Regions from separate parts of the Homo sapiens genome. Here all the other regions are linked to region 2. The links are contacts of gene promoters, found by promoter capture Hi-C in blood cells and fetal thymus (Javierre and others, 2016). All regions are on one chromosome and are shown on one strand. The core of a region is centred on a gene start or on the middle of the fragment in contact, and the rest is flanking DNA. Distances in the headings are between cores, read along the strand shown.

What was found. The method cuts DNA at HindIII sites, captures the fragments that hold promoters and counts their contacts. A CHiCAGO score of 5 or more calls a contact.
Region 1: a contact is called between a fragment that was not itself captured here and the fragment with the promoter of KIF9 in region 2, in 2 of 17 cell types (endothelial precursors and naive B cells). The highest score is 5.5, in endothelial precursors.
Region 3: a contact is called between a fragment that was not itself captured here and the fragment with the promoter of KIF9 in region 2, in 2 of 17 cell types (naive B cells and total B cells). The highest score is 5.9, in naive B cells.

What each region holds. Positions count from the first base shown.
Region 1 is chr3:47,066,885-47,071,172 of GRCh38, reverse strand. It overlaps SETD2 (SET domain containing 2, histone lysine methyltransferase), which reads left to right. Exons shown (of 21, transcript NM_014159.7): 13 at 4,055-4,103. Among named protein-coding and RNA genes, the nearest start is that of NBEAL2, 89 kb to the right of the region's middle. RefSeq lists an enhancer at 3,151-3,756. The HindIII fragment of the contact is 747 bases long and covers 1,243-1,989 here.
Region 2 is chr3:47,280,365-47,284,643 of GRCh38, reverse strand. KIF9 (kinesin family member 9) reads left to right here and starts at 1,845. Exons shown (of 21, transcript NM_182902.4): 1 at 1,845-2,149. It overlaps KLHL18 (kelch like family member 18), which reads right to left and starts at 1,700. Exons shown (of 10, transcript NM_025010.5): 1 at 1,550-1,700. The coding sequence starts at 1,678. RefSeq lists enhancers at 1,717-2,106, 1,322-2,521. The HindIII fragment of the contact is 6,231 bases long and covers 1-4,279 here.
Region 3 is chr3:47,109,690-47,113,749 of GRCh38, reverse strand. The region is part of intron 5 of SETD2 (SET domain containing 2, histone lysine methyltransferase); the gene reads left to right. Among named protein-coding and RNA genes, the nearest start is that of SETD2, 52 kb to the left of the region's middle. RefSeq lists an enhancer at 1-40. The HindIII fragment of the contact is 5,114 bases long and covers 1-4,060 here.

The DNA.
Region 1 (4,288 bases), core at 367-2,866, 210 kb after region 2:
AGAGCAGTCCTAGAACCTAACTTACAGAATATCAAACCTGCCAGGCATAGTGGCACGCACCTGTAGGCCAGCTACTTGGGAAGCTGAAGATCAAAGCATCCCTTGAGCATGGGAGTTTGAGGGTGCAGTGAGCTATGATCACACCACTGCACTGGACATGATGGCTTCCAGCACTTCGGGAGGCTAAGACAGGAGGATCACTTGAGGCCAGGAGTTTGAGACCAGCCTGGGCAACAGAGCAAGACCCCATCGCTATACACACATATACACACACAATATTAAATCTTAGAACATCCACAGTATTGTCTTCAGTATTCTCTTCCAGTAAATAACATTTTGAGACCTTATAGATCTGAAAAATGTCCTTATTCTATTCTCCCTTGTTTGGCAGATCATATAATTATCATTTTGAAATCTTCTGTTATAGTATGCCAGTCTCTTGAGTGGAATATTTAACAAAGTAAGGTGATCTTACATTAAGGGTTAACATGAATGAAGCCAATTTAAACATTTTCTGTAACAGACTCTGTGGCCTATGGATGTGACATTATTCCAGACAGACTCAAGTATCACTGAGACTAATACTATTATTCACAAGACAGAATGATCTTAAGAAATGTCAAAGTTATCCTCGCGTGGCTGCTTCCTTCTCAGCTTTCAATGTTGTGGGACTTTGGAAAACTTCAGTTGTATTTTCAGGACCCCATTCTCTTAATATATAAAATAAGGAGGAGACAGTAGGTAATTTGAGTTGCCAGCTTAAATTTTGTATGTAGCCTTGACTAGAAAGAGAGAGGATCAAGTTAGCAGCTCCAAGTGCTTAGGTACATATTGATAGAAATTGTTTCTCATGTGATTAGGCACACAGTAAATAGTAGCTCCTGGTCATTAGTCAGTAGTAATCATTATTTTGTGAACATCAAAATACATTTTCAACTTAGTAGTTGATCTAAACTTTTGAACGTAACTAAGAATTTATCTTTGAGAAGCGTTTCTGGTGGTACATTAACTGCCGCTACAGAGTGGGTCCCCAACTTGAGGCCTATGTAATAAATTACTTTAAATTTTTGTAATAAATGCTTATAATGCCAAGATATTATGCAAAAGAAACTAGGTCAAAATTGTGTTATTCTTAGTGGGACCCTCAATACACCAATTCTAAGTACCTTTTGTGAATGAACCTGCTGTCTTTTGGAGTGCCTAGGTTTACAGAGTACCTAATGCAAATGTCATTTCCAAGCTTCTTAAAATTAGCAGAATACCTTTTTTCCCTTATAGTGTGGGTAGATGGTAATAAATGGCGTTCTTACTTTTTCCTGTCTAATAACCCCTCTGAGAGGCAGACAGAGGAGTAAGACACACAGAACTAAGAGTGCCAGCTTGCTCCTTCCTGTCTTTATTCCTGATTCAGTATTACCCACAGCTAGAAATTGACAACTCAGTAACTTCAGATGTCCCTCATAGTAGCAGATGGGAATGTACCCCCTCTCTAAAGGCAAAAGCAGATCAAGAGAAAAGAGAGCCCAGATGTCTCTTAGCTGAGGGCAGGCCTACCTAGTTTTTTCTCCCAGATTCTCTCTTGTGGGGAGGGGTGGGTGAGGATAAGAATAGCCAGTAGTTCAGTAGTTCTCAGCCTTCTCTGTGCATCAGAATCATCTGAGGAGCTTCTAAAAAATACGCATGTCTGGCATCCACATCCAGAGATTTAGATTCACTTTGTCTGGGGTGGTATTTCCATGAACGCTTCTTGGGTGGTTTAATTGTACAACCAGGGTAGAGAATCACAGCTCTAATGAAAGTTCTTCTACATAGGAAGGAGAGGTTAAGGGGATGGAGGATGTCACCTGCATTTGTGCATAAATCTCAGAATGGTACTCCTTCTCAAAATAATGTTGTTAGGCATGTCCTGTGTCATCTAATACAGAAGATAAAAGTGCTCTTGAGTTAGACTGTCTGGTAGCATCATAACCTTGGGTAGATTGCTAAGCTTTTTAAGTAAGTTTCCTTTTTGGAAAATTGAGGTAATAGTACTTACCTCATAGGGTCGTTTTGAAGCTCAAATAAGATAATGTATTTGAAGGGCCGGGTGCGGTGGCTCACATCTGTAATCCCAGAACTTTGGGAGGCCAAGGTGGGCAGATCATGAGGTCAGGAGTTCGAGACCAGTCTGGCCAACATGATGAAACCCCATCTCTACTAAAAATACAAAAATTAGCCAAGCATGGTGGCATGCACCTGTAATCCCAGTTACTGGGGAGGCTAAGGAGAATCGCTTGAACCTGGGAGGTGGAGGTTGCAATGAGCTGAGATCGCACCACTGCACTCCAGCCTGTGCGACAGAGACCCCGGTTCAAAAAACAAAACAAAACAAAAAGATAGGCCGGGCGCAGTGGCTTACGCCTGTAATCCTAGCACTTTGGGAGGCCAGGGTGGGAAGATCATGAGATCAGGAGTTCGAGACCAACCTGGCTAACATGGTGAAACCCTGTCTTTACTAAAAATACAAAAATTAGCTGGGCATGGTGGTGTGTGCCTATAATCCCTGCTACTCAGGAGGCTGAGGCAGGAGAATTGCTTGAACCCAGGAGGCAGAGGTTGCAGTAAGCTGAGATTGTGCCGCTTTACCCCAGCCTGGATGACAGAGCAAGACTCCGTCTCAAAAAAAAAAAAAAAAAAAAAGATAGTGTATTTGAAATGTTCAGCATGATATCTGGCACACAGTATAAGTGCACAATTAATTATAATCATCTTTATTAATTTGTCAGCATGCATATAGTATTGGAGGTTTAAAAAAATTTTTCATTTATATAGATTTCCCTGGATCTGTGCAGTCCATATTGATCCTTTTTAATGGCAACTGAATATTACATCATGACCTTTCCTCAGTTGTGTGACATGTGGCTTATTATTTTTCACAAATATTGTGAGAAGCAACAATTGTGGAGAGGAGGCCACAGGTGTGGTTAATATTATGAGATTCCTCTGAAGGGATGATATCACCTTATGTACTATTGAGAGTGTGTAGGCTTGTTACTGTCCCACTTAAGATGACTGGATAAGAAAGTATTGTGCCCAATAGTTACTCGATGGACGGTGGAATAGTGAAGAGCTGTTAAAGAACAAAATAGGTTCTAGGCCTTAGATAACACAAGAAAAGGTACTTAAAAGCCTTTAAAACAGTTCACATTTCTCAGGATCAATTTTGGTACAGTGATCAAGAGGAGCAGTGATCTAATGCTTATCCTTTATATTTTTTATTTTTTATAACAAACACAATGTGAAAGTAGATATTACATTGGCCATTAGTCATGTTGGTTTTGCATTTATAGAAAAATACACTGAATAGTAGGAATTGTCTTTACACATACAATTTTTCTGAAGTGTTTTTATATAACTGGGTAGTTATTAACCTTTTCTTTCTCTAAGTAGAGATGGCAAGTGCACATTAGAATTATGAATACTTGGCCAGGCATGGTGGCTCACGCCTGTAATCCCAGCACTTTGGGAGGCTGAGTAGATTGCTTGAGCCCAGGAGTTCGAGACCAGCCTGGGCAATGTGATAAAACCCCATCTCTACAAAAATAGAAAAAATTAGCGGGGCATGGTGGCATCCACCTGTGGTCCCAGCTACTTGGGAGGCTGGGGCAGAAGGATTGCTTGTGCCTGGGAGGCAGAGGTTGCAGTGAGCCGAGATCATGCCACTGCCCTTCAGCCTGGGTGACAGAGCAAGACCTTGTCTCAAAAAAAAAAAAAAAAAAAAAAAAAAGATGCTCAGGAAGCGTATCCTTGCCCAGTCATTTAGTATGCTGCTTTGCTAGTGAGATCGTACAAGCTTGATAGATGTAAATATATGTATTTCTGCTATATATTTTTTCTTGTTTTTAAGGGGCCAGGATATATTCTTATTTAAAGCCCAGATATAAGTCAAATTTTAGAGAATAAGTACCAGCTTGTTACTTTCCATTTCTTTATTGTCATGTGAAAACAGTCAGTTTCAAAGCAATCACCATTTCCACCCTCACTAATAACCCTCCCTCTGGTTTATTTTTTGCAGGAGGTATATCGAATTCCAAAGAAAAGTCAAACTGAAAAGGAAAACACAAGTAGGTATTCAGAGATACTCTGTGTTGATGGCTTTACAAATATTCTTTTGTTATGTGCAGAGGTAACTGATAAGAACTTAAGCGTTTTTGTTTTTGAAACTAGAGAATATATAACTAGGTAAATGAAATATTTGGTGTAAAAGTTTGGAAACTTGTGCTTTTATTCTTAATGCATTTTGCCAAAG
Region 2 (4,279 bases), core at 596-3,095:
AAGAGCAGGCTGGGCGCGGTGACTCACGCGTGTAATTCTAGCACTTTGGGAGGCCGAGACAGGCAGACTGCTGAAGCTCAGGAGTTCGAGACCAGCCTGAGCAACATGGTGAAACCCTGTCTCTACTAAAAATAGAAAAAATTAGCCAGGGGTAGTGGTGCGCGCCTGTAGTCCCAGCTGCTGGGGAGGCTGAGGCAGGAGAATCGCTTGAACCCAGGAGAGAGAGTTTCAGTGAGCCAAGATAGCGCCACTGCACTCCAGCCTGGGCAACAGAACGAGACTCCGTCTCAAAAAAAAAAAAAAAAAGAAAAAAGAAAAGAAGAGCAAAAGAATCTCTGCATAGTTTTATTTTTTCTTTTATTTATTTATTTGTGTGTGTGTGTGTGTGTGAGAGAGACAGAGAGAAATAGGAGAAATAGGATCTTGCTGTGTTGCCCAGGCTGGAGTGCAGTGGTGTGATTACAACTCACTGCAGGCTTGACCTCCTAGGCTCAAGCGATCCTCCCACCTCACCCTCCTGAGTAGCTGGGACTACGGGCACAGGCTACCATGCCCAGACAATTTTTTATTATTTGTAGAGACAGGGTCTCCCTACATAGCCCAGGCTGGTCTCCAATTCCCCCACTCAAGTGATCCTCTCGCCTCTCAAAGTGCTGGGATTACAGGTGTGAGCCACCATGCCTGCCCTGTTTGTTTTTTAAACAGGGATCACGCACAGATGCTGAGAGCTTTCCAGCTAAAGCCCAACAGGGAGCCCCACTGATCATCTCCCCAACCGGACGTCTCCACATGGTTCGGTGGCTTGGCCAGGCAGCAGCACAGCATGCCTCTTCCTCATGAAAAGACCCAGGCACAGGAGGGAGGCTGGCTCTAGCGACCAGAATGCTGGTGGGGAACAGGTGGTTAAGATATCTTTCCCTCTTAATATCAGTCAGCATCCCTCTCCCCACGCGGCCAGCAGGCCCAGCCCCGGGGACCTTTGTGGTGGTGAGTGGTGCCTTCCAGTATGGGGCAGGGTGGCTTCCCACCTCAAAAATTTTCCAGAGAAGATTTTAAAAGCTCTTAAGAGACAAAGTAGTAATTCAACAATTAAGGGCAATGATTCCTAAGGAGAAGCCTTCTCTTCTAGAACAGCACAGCCAAGTTCGACAGGCACAAAGAAATATCTGTAGTGACAAGAGAAGGTTCTTCAGTGGTGCCCATCAGCATGTGGAGCCGGCCACCGCCCCTGCCTCCATAGAAGGTAAGTCCATTTTCTCTTGTCTGCATGACAGAAAAAGGAGGCTGTCACCCGTGTCTCCCACTCCAAGGGCCTAAGCGGCGCACCTCTCAACCTTTCCTTTCAAGGGCTGAAAGGTTGTCCTCTTCCTCTCCCCACTCGGCCCCGATCCCCTTTTGCTCGGCACCTCTCTCCCCACTACTCGGCCCCCCTCACACCTCTTCTCCCCACCCCTCTCCCTGCTAGACCTCTCTTTCTCTGTCCCCCGCCCCTTTTTACTCCCCGCTCGACCCCTTTTCCCTCAGCCCGCTGCCGCCCAGTCCGCGGTACCTTGAGGGTCACGTCGCACAGCTTGCCCTGCCGCCGGATCTCCTCCATGACGCCGTAGCCGCGACTAGGCAACTCAGACACGGAGAAGTGCACCAGATCCTCCAGCTCCTCCGCGCCGTCCTCCACCATCTTCCCCGGCCGCTGCAACTGCGCAGGCCTCGCCGGCCGGCTAGACACTAACCAGGGCGGGGCGATAGCGCACGCCGACAGCCGCTCGGAGCGCGGAGCAGCAATCGGACGGGCCTCCGCGGCCGCCGTAGTTGAATCTCCTCGGCGCCGGAAGCCCCGCCACTCCGCTTCCTGGTTCATGTGCGGCCTTCGTTCCCTCGCTATCTCGACCTTGACTTCGCATGTGCATCCGCCGAAGTCTTTCTAGATCAATCGGCCCCATCTCTCGTCTTCCCGATTCGGCCATGACCTCACCCGTATCCTCGACGTAGGACCTCGGACTTCATTTCCGCCACCCCGACACTTCCGGAATCCCCGGAAGCGACCCGTTGCCATGGCGACTATGTACACAGCCAGGCAGCCCCGCGTGGGGAGTGCAGGTGGTTTCGGTTGCGGCAGTCGCGTCCCGGGAGCGTCGCTGCCTGGTGAACGGTGAGCAGGGGCTGCTCGCCGGTGGGAGTGGGGAGACGGGAAAAGGGTGTGCGCCCGGACTGCTGAAAGTGGCTGGGGTCCAAAAACCGCTTTATCTGGGGGTTCCCAGCTGGGTCGCTCATCTCTGAAACCCAGGCGAAGGAGGGCTCGACGTCGCGGGAGTCCTTTCAACCTGACCGCGGCTTACGGTCTTCGGAGCTAATGTTCATTGGTCCCACAAAGGGGTCCCACGTCGCGTCCAGGACATAGAGGCCGTGAGGCAGGGAGCCAGAGGTCGTCTGGACTCTTCCGTACTAGTCAGTTTTCGAACTAGAGGGGGCTTTGGGATCACCAGTCGGAGCCCTTCGTGTTACAGGTGAGGAAACCTCTCCAGAGAGGGACCGGAATGGGTCCAAAGCCCACTGCCGCCCAGGCTCCACGCGGGGGTCCGGCACATTGGGTGAGAAAAAGGAGAAAGTCTAGTTTTGCCTGCATCCTAGTCTTGTTCAGCCAAGGCCAGGTGCAGTTGGACCCAGTGTTTTGGATTCGGGTGTTGGTGCTGCCGCTACGGGTAGCTATGAGGGTTCCCCATGACAGCCCCTCATCTGGACGGGAGCACTGGAAGATAGGGACCCACCTGGTGCCTTCCACCCCACCAAACGCTCCCTTTCCTCTTGTCTAGTCTTCATGGCTGCTTGTTGCCAATTCTGTTCATTCCCACTAAAGACAAATGAGGAAACCTCGAGCGCCTTAACACAGAAGTCTCCTGGTGGCCATTCAGAGACTTGCTTTGTTATACCAGAAATATCAAAGGGTGGTTCCCCAAGGAGAGACATTCCCCACAAGGTCCTGAGGGAGAAAGGGAGGGGGCCGGGCGCCGTGGCTCACGCCTGTAATCCTAGCACTTTGGGAGGCTGAGGTGAGCGGATTGCTTGAGCTCAGGAGTTCAAGACCAGCCTGGGCAACATGGCGAAACCCTGTCTCTACGAAAAATACAAAAATTACCCGGGCGTGGTGGTGCACGCCTGTAGTCCTAGCTACTTGCGGGGCTGAGGTGGGAGGATCGCTTGAACCCAGGATGTGGAGGCTACGGTGAACCGAGATTGTTTCACTGCACTCCAGCCTAGGTGACAGAGTGAGACCCTGTCACAAAAACAAATAAACAAAAAACAAAAACAAAAACAAAAAAAGCGTGTGGTGAGGTGCTGGATGTGGATTTTTGCACCTGGAAACCAAGTGTCCTCCTGGAAGGGCTGTGGGCTTTGGTTGGAGTTGTCATGGAAGGGGAGTGACATCATATGCCCCTTGGGACTCTCTCAGTAGTGACTGAAGATAGACCCACATATGAAGATTCAGCTGCCCTCTGACTTCCAGCCATTACCATCACCAACCACCGCCATTTCCTGAATACCTACTCTGTGCTGGGCTCTGCCCTGGACATTGTGAGGGGATTCAAAAGAGATAAAAAGCACAATCCTTGCCTTCAAGCAGCTTGTAATTTAATTTTGGGAACTGAAACCCACTCAAATGAAGCGACGTAAGAATGGTAACAAGCAGTATTTCAGTAAGTGCAAGATGGCATGGGGTCCCTAAATGTTTGGGTGTTAAAGGGCTGCTGAGTAGCAGGCTCACAAGACGGGTGTGCAAAGGAAGACTTTATTGCAGGTGGATATGGCTCCTGGCCTGCTTGGAGCCATGGTGTCAGCATGGGAGGGCCTTGGGAAGCATACATGGGGTGACTGCGTGTGCATGTGCATGTTGGCAAATAGCAGGGCAGAGAAGGGCCAGGCTCTGGAGGGAGAGTGATGCTTTTGCTTATTTGTTTTGTTTTGTTGAGACAGTCTCACGCTGTTGTCCAGGCTGGAGAGCAGTGGTGTGCCATCACTGCTCAAGTGATCCTCCTGCCTCAGCCTCCTGGGAAATTGGGACCACACGCGTGCACCACCACACTTGGCAAATTTTTAAAATTTTTTGTAGAGACAAGGTCTTGCTGTGTTACCCAAGCTGGTTCCTAATTCCTGGCCTCAAGCGATCCTCCCACATTGGCCTCCCAAAGGCTGGGATTACAGGCGTGAGCCACCATGCCCAGCTGAGGTTGATGCTCTGAACTGGCCTGTGCTACTCTTGTGCAGGGGCTTCAGGGAGAGAGGC
Region 3 (4,060 bases), core at 756-3,255, 170 kb after region 2:
CTCCTGCCTTAGCCTCTCAAGTAGCTGGAACTACAGGCTCATGCCACCATGCCCAGCTAATTTTTTTTGTATTTTTTTGGTAGAGACGTTGTTTCACCATGTTGGCCAGGCTGGTTTCGAACTCTGACCGCAAGTTTTCCGCCCACCTTGGCATCCCAAAGTGCTGGGATTACAGGTGTGAGCCGTCGCGCCTGGGCTTCACTTCATTTTTGTGTTGTTGAACTTAGATGTTTTTGTAGGGAAACAATTTCTTTATTACACTGAGGTTTAATGATGATTATTATGTAGAATGACCACTTGGTAGCTAGTTTGTTGTTAAAAAATCTTTTTTTCTTTTTTGGTAATTATGTTTTCTTTAATTCCAAGCAACTACCAAGTGTTTACTGTGGACCCCCAGAATCTCTATGAAGCTATATAAAAAGAAGTTGGGACAGAATCCATTAGTATACATAAAATTGAGTTGGGATAAGAGTAGAAGAGAAGGCCAGGTGCAGTGGCTCATGCTTGTAATCTCAGCGCTATGGGAAGCTAAGTGGGAGGACTGCTTGAGCCTGGGAGTTCAAGGTTACAGTGAGCTGTGATCACGCCACTGCATTCTAGCCTGGATGGCAGTGATCTCTTGTCTCTTAAAGAAAAAAAAAAAGAGTAGAAGAGAATACCTGAGCATATCAAGGTTAAGAATTAAAACATACTTGATAGATAATCATTAAACATTTCTTGAATGAATAAATGTTGCTTTCCATGTAACTGATGTAAGTTTTTAATGTAATACAGCAAAAGGTTCACTTTATTTTCTACCATATTCAGTATTTCCTGGAAATGTTTAATTTTCTTATATATAGCATATTTAAAGTATTCTTGGCCGGGCATGGTGACTCATGCTTGTAATCCCAGCACTTTGGGAAGCCAAGGTGAGTGGATCACCTGAAGTCGGGAGTTCGAGACCAGCCTGGCCAACATGGCGAAACCCCGTCTCTACTAAAAATACAAAAATTAGATGGGTGTGGTGGCGCACGCCTATAATCCCAGCTACCTGGGAGGCTGAGGTAGGAGAATCGCTTGAACTTGGGAGGTGGAGGTTGCAGTGAGCCGAGATCATGCCACTGCCCTCTAGCCTGGGAGACAGAGCAAGACTCCATCTCGAAAACAAACAAAAAACCCAAAATTACGCTGGACGTGGTGGTTCACGCCTGTAATCCCAGCACTTTGGGAGGCCGAGGTGGGCAGATCACCTGAGGTCAGGAGTTCAAGACCAGCCTGGCCAATGTGGTGAAACCCTGTCACTACTAAAAATACAAAAATTAGCTGGATGTGGTGGCAGGCACCAATAATCCCAGTTACTTGAGGGGCTGAGGCAGGAGAATCTCTTGAACCGGGGAAGCGAAGGTTGCAGTGAGCCGAGATTGCGCCATTGTACTCCATCCTGGGTGACAAGAGTGAAACTCTGTCTCAAAAAACAAAACAAAAATTAGCCAGGCATGATGGCGCACAGCTGTAATCCCAGCTACTCGGGAGGCTGAGGCAGAAGAATTTGCTTGAACCCACGAGGAGGAGGTTGCAGTGAGCCGAGATCATGGCACTGCATTCCAGCCTGGGGGACAGAGCGAGACTGTCTCCAAAAAAAAAAAAAAAAAGTATTCTTAATGAAGGTCAAGTGCCTCTTTGAAGTTAAATATAAACAGATTACATGTGTTTATGGTTGAAACATTTAAAAAATATATAAAAGAAAAAATGGAAGGAAATAAAACATTTGCTGGATTCTAGTAACTTAGACATAACTATTCTTTCAGAACCCTCTGAGCATATGGCCACAGTTGGATGGGAGTTGGAGTTGGGGCAGGACTTGGTGGGGTTTAATCTGTTTATTGTGGGAATTCAAAACACAGGTAATAAAGACAATAATTTTTTTTTCTCACTGTTTTCCCCTTGGCAATAATTTAGTTTTATGACAGGAATCCTCATATATCTTTTGATAAGCAAATTGTTCTTTTTTTTTTTTTCCTTTGAAGATAAGAAATGATGTTGATATTAATCTATCCTTTTGGGAACCAATCAGAAAGCAACATGTTTTGTTACACAAAAAGGGGGCTAGTAGGAACCTCATAGATTTCTCTTCTCCTCTAAGTTTTGTAAAAACACACCCTGGCTCATAACTGGTTTTTATTGTTTTTTATTTTTTTGAGACAGGGTCTTGCCCTGTCACCCTCGCTGGAGTATCCTGGCGCAATCATAGCTCACTGCAGTGTCGACCTCCCAGGCTCAATTTATCCTCCTGCCTCAGCCTTCTGAGTAGCTGAGACTATAAGTGTGAGCCAGTATGCCCAGCTACTTTATTTTTCTATTTTTTGTAGAGATGGGGTCCTCACTATGTTGCCTAGGCTTCTCATAACTGGTTTTTAATTGTTTATTTGAAGCAAATATCCCACAGAATTGTCATATGCCCCATATCCATTCATTGGATTCTTTATAATATTTTAAACAAATAATTGGTTACACTTCCTTTGAACACTGTTGATACAGAACTCAATACCTCTCAAAGCAGCCCATTGAATTTCCAAAATCACTAGTTCTAGTCCAGACGCACATTTTCAAAGATGCCTTCTTTCATTCTGCCCTAGCCAGCCAGGCCTTCTTGAGATTTTTTTTTTTTTTTTTTTTTTTTTTTTTTTTAAAGGAACCACAGTTTGGACACAAGCCTCTCTTACAGGGACAATAGTGGATGAGCTGTCTGGATGCTGGTCTTTTGTGGTATCTGCAGTAAAACACATAGCTTCAAACCTGATCTAAATTCTGTTACTTGCAACAGACACTCTTTGATAGCTCAGTGCTCTTCTCATATTAAGGGGAAAGGAGACTGGGGAAGGGAGGAAAGGATATATGGCTCCAGTTTATAAGCCAGGTTAAAATTTCCTAAAGCTCTTCCGTTTTCTTCAGCTATTCACAGAGAACCCTGCTTTGGTAAAATATACTAGGACTTAATGTTTCCATGTTTCCCATACCTTCCTACTCCTATAACTGCCACATGATGATGTGTAATACCAATAGTTTATGAATTTCATAAACTAGTCAAAACTCTTGCGTTGTTTACTGGTAGAGTATTACCATTTAATAAGGACAGATTGTCAGAGCTACACAGGATGAGAAATTATTTGGAGCTAAGTTACTAGTTAGTGTTAAAGTGCCATGGCAGACCCCACCAAAAAAGCAGGTTATTACCAAAACCCCTGTAGTTTTAGGAAATCTCCCAGTTGTAGGAAGAGAAGGCAGTCCAGGTTGACTTAATGTAATTGGATACCAGATAGGGTTTTAATTGAGGTAAAATTCACATAATATAATATTGACCATTTTAAAGTTTACAATTCAGTACCATTTAGTGCATTCATAATCTTGTGCAACTGCCACTTTTGTCTGTGTCCAAAACATTTTCATCATCTGAAAAGGGAACTAACTCTGCCTGTTAAGCAGAATCTTCTCATACCTGCCTCCTCCCAGGCCTGGCAGCCACTAATTTGCTGTCTGTTTCTGTGGGTTGATCTATTCTCGGTATTTCGTATAAATGAAATTATACAATATGTGGCCTTTTGTGTCTGGCTTCTTTCACTTAGCATTATGTTTTTGAGGTTTCATCTGTATTGCAGCATGTGTCAGCACTTAATTCCTATTTATGGCTGAATAATACTCTCTTGTATGGGTATACGATATTTTGTATATCCTTTTGTTAGTTGATGGACATTTGGGCAAATGAGGCTTTTTTTTTTTTTTTTGAGATGGAGTCTTGCTCTGTCACTCAGGCTGGAGCACAGTGGCACGATCACGGCTCACTGCAACCTCTGCTTCCCGGGTTCAAGTGATTCTCCTGCCTCAGCCTCCTGAGTAGCTGGGATTACAGGTGTGCGCCACCATGCCCAGCTAATTTTTCTATTTTTAGTAGAGAGGGGGTTTCACCATGTTGGCCCAGCTGGTCTCGAACTCCTGACTACAGGTGATCCGCCTGGCTTGGCTTCCCAAAGTGCTGTAATTACAGGGGTAAGCCACCGTGGCTGGCCGAAATGAGGCTTTT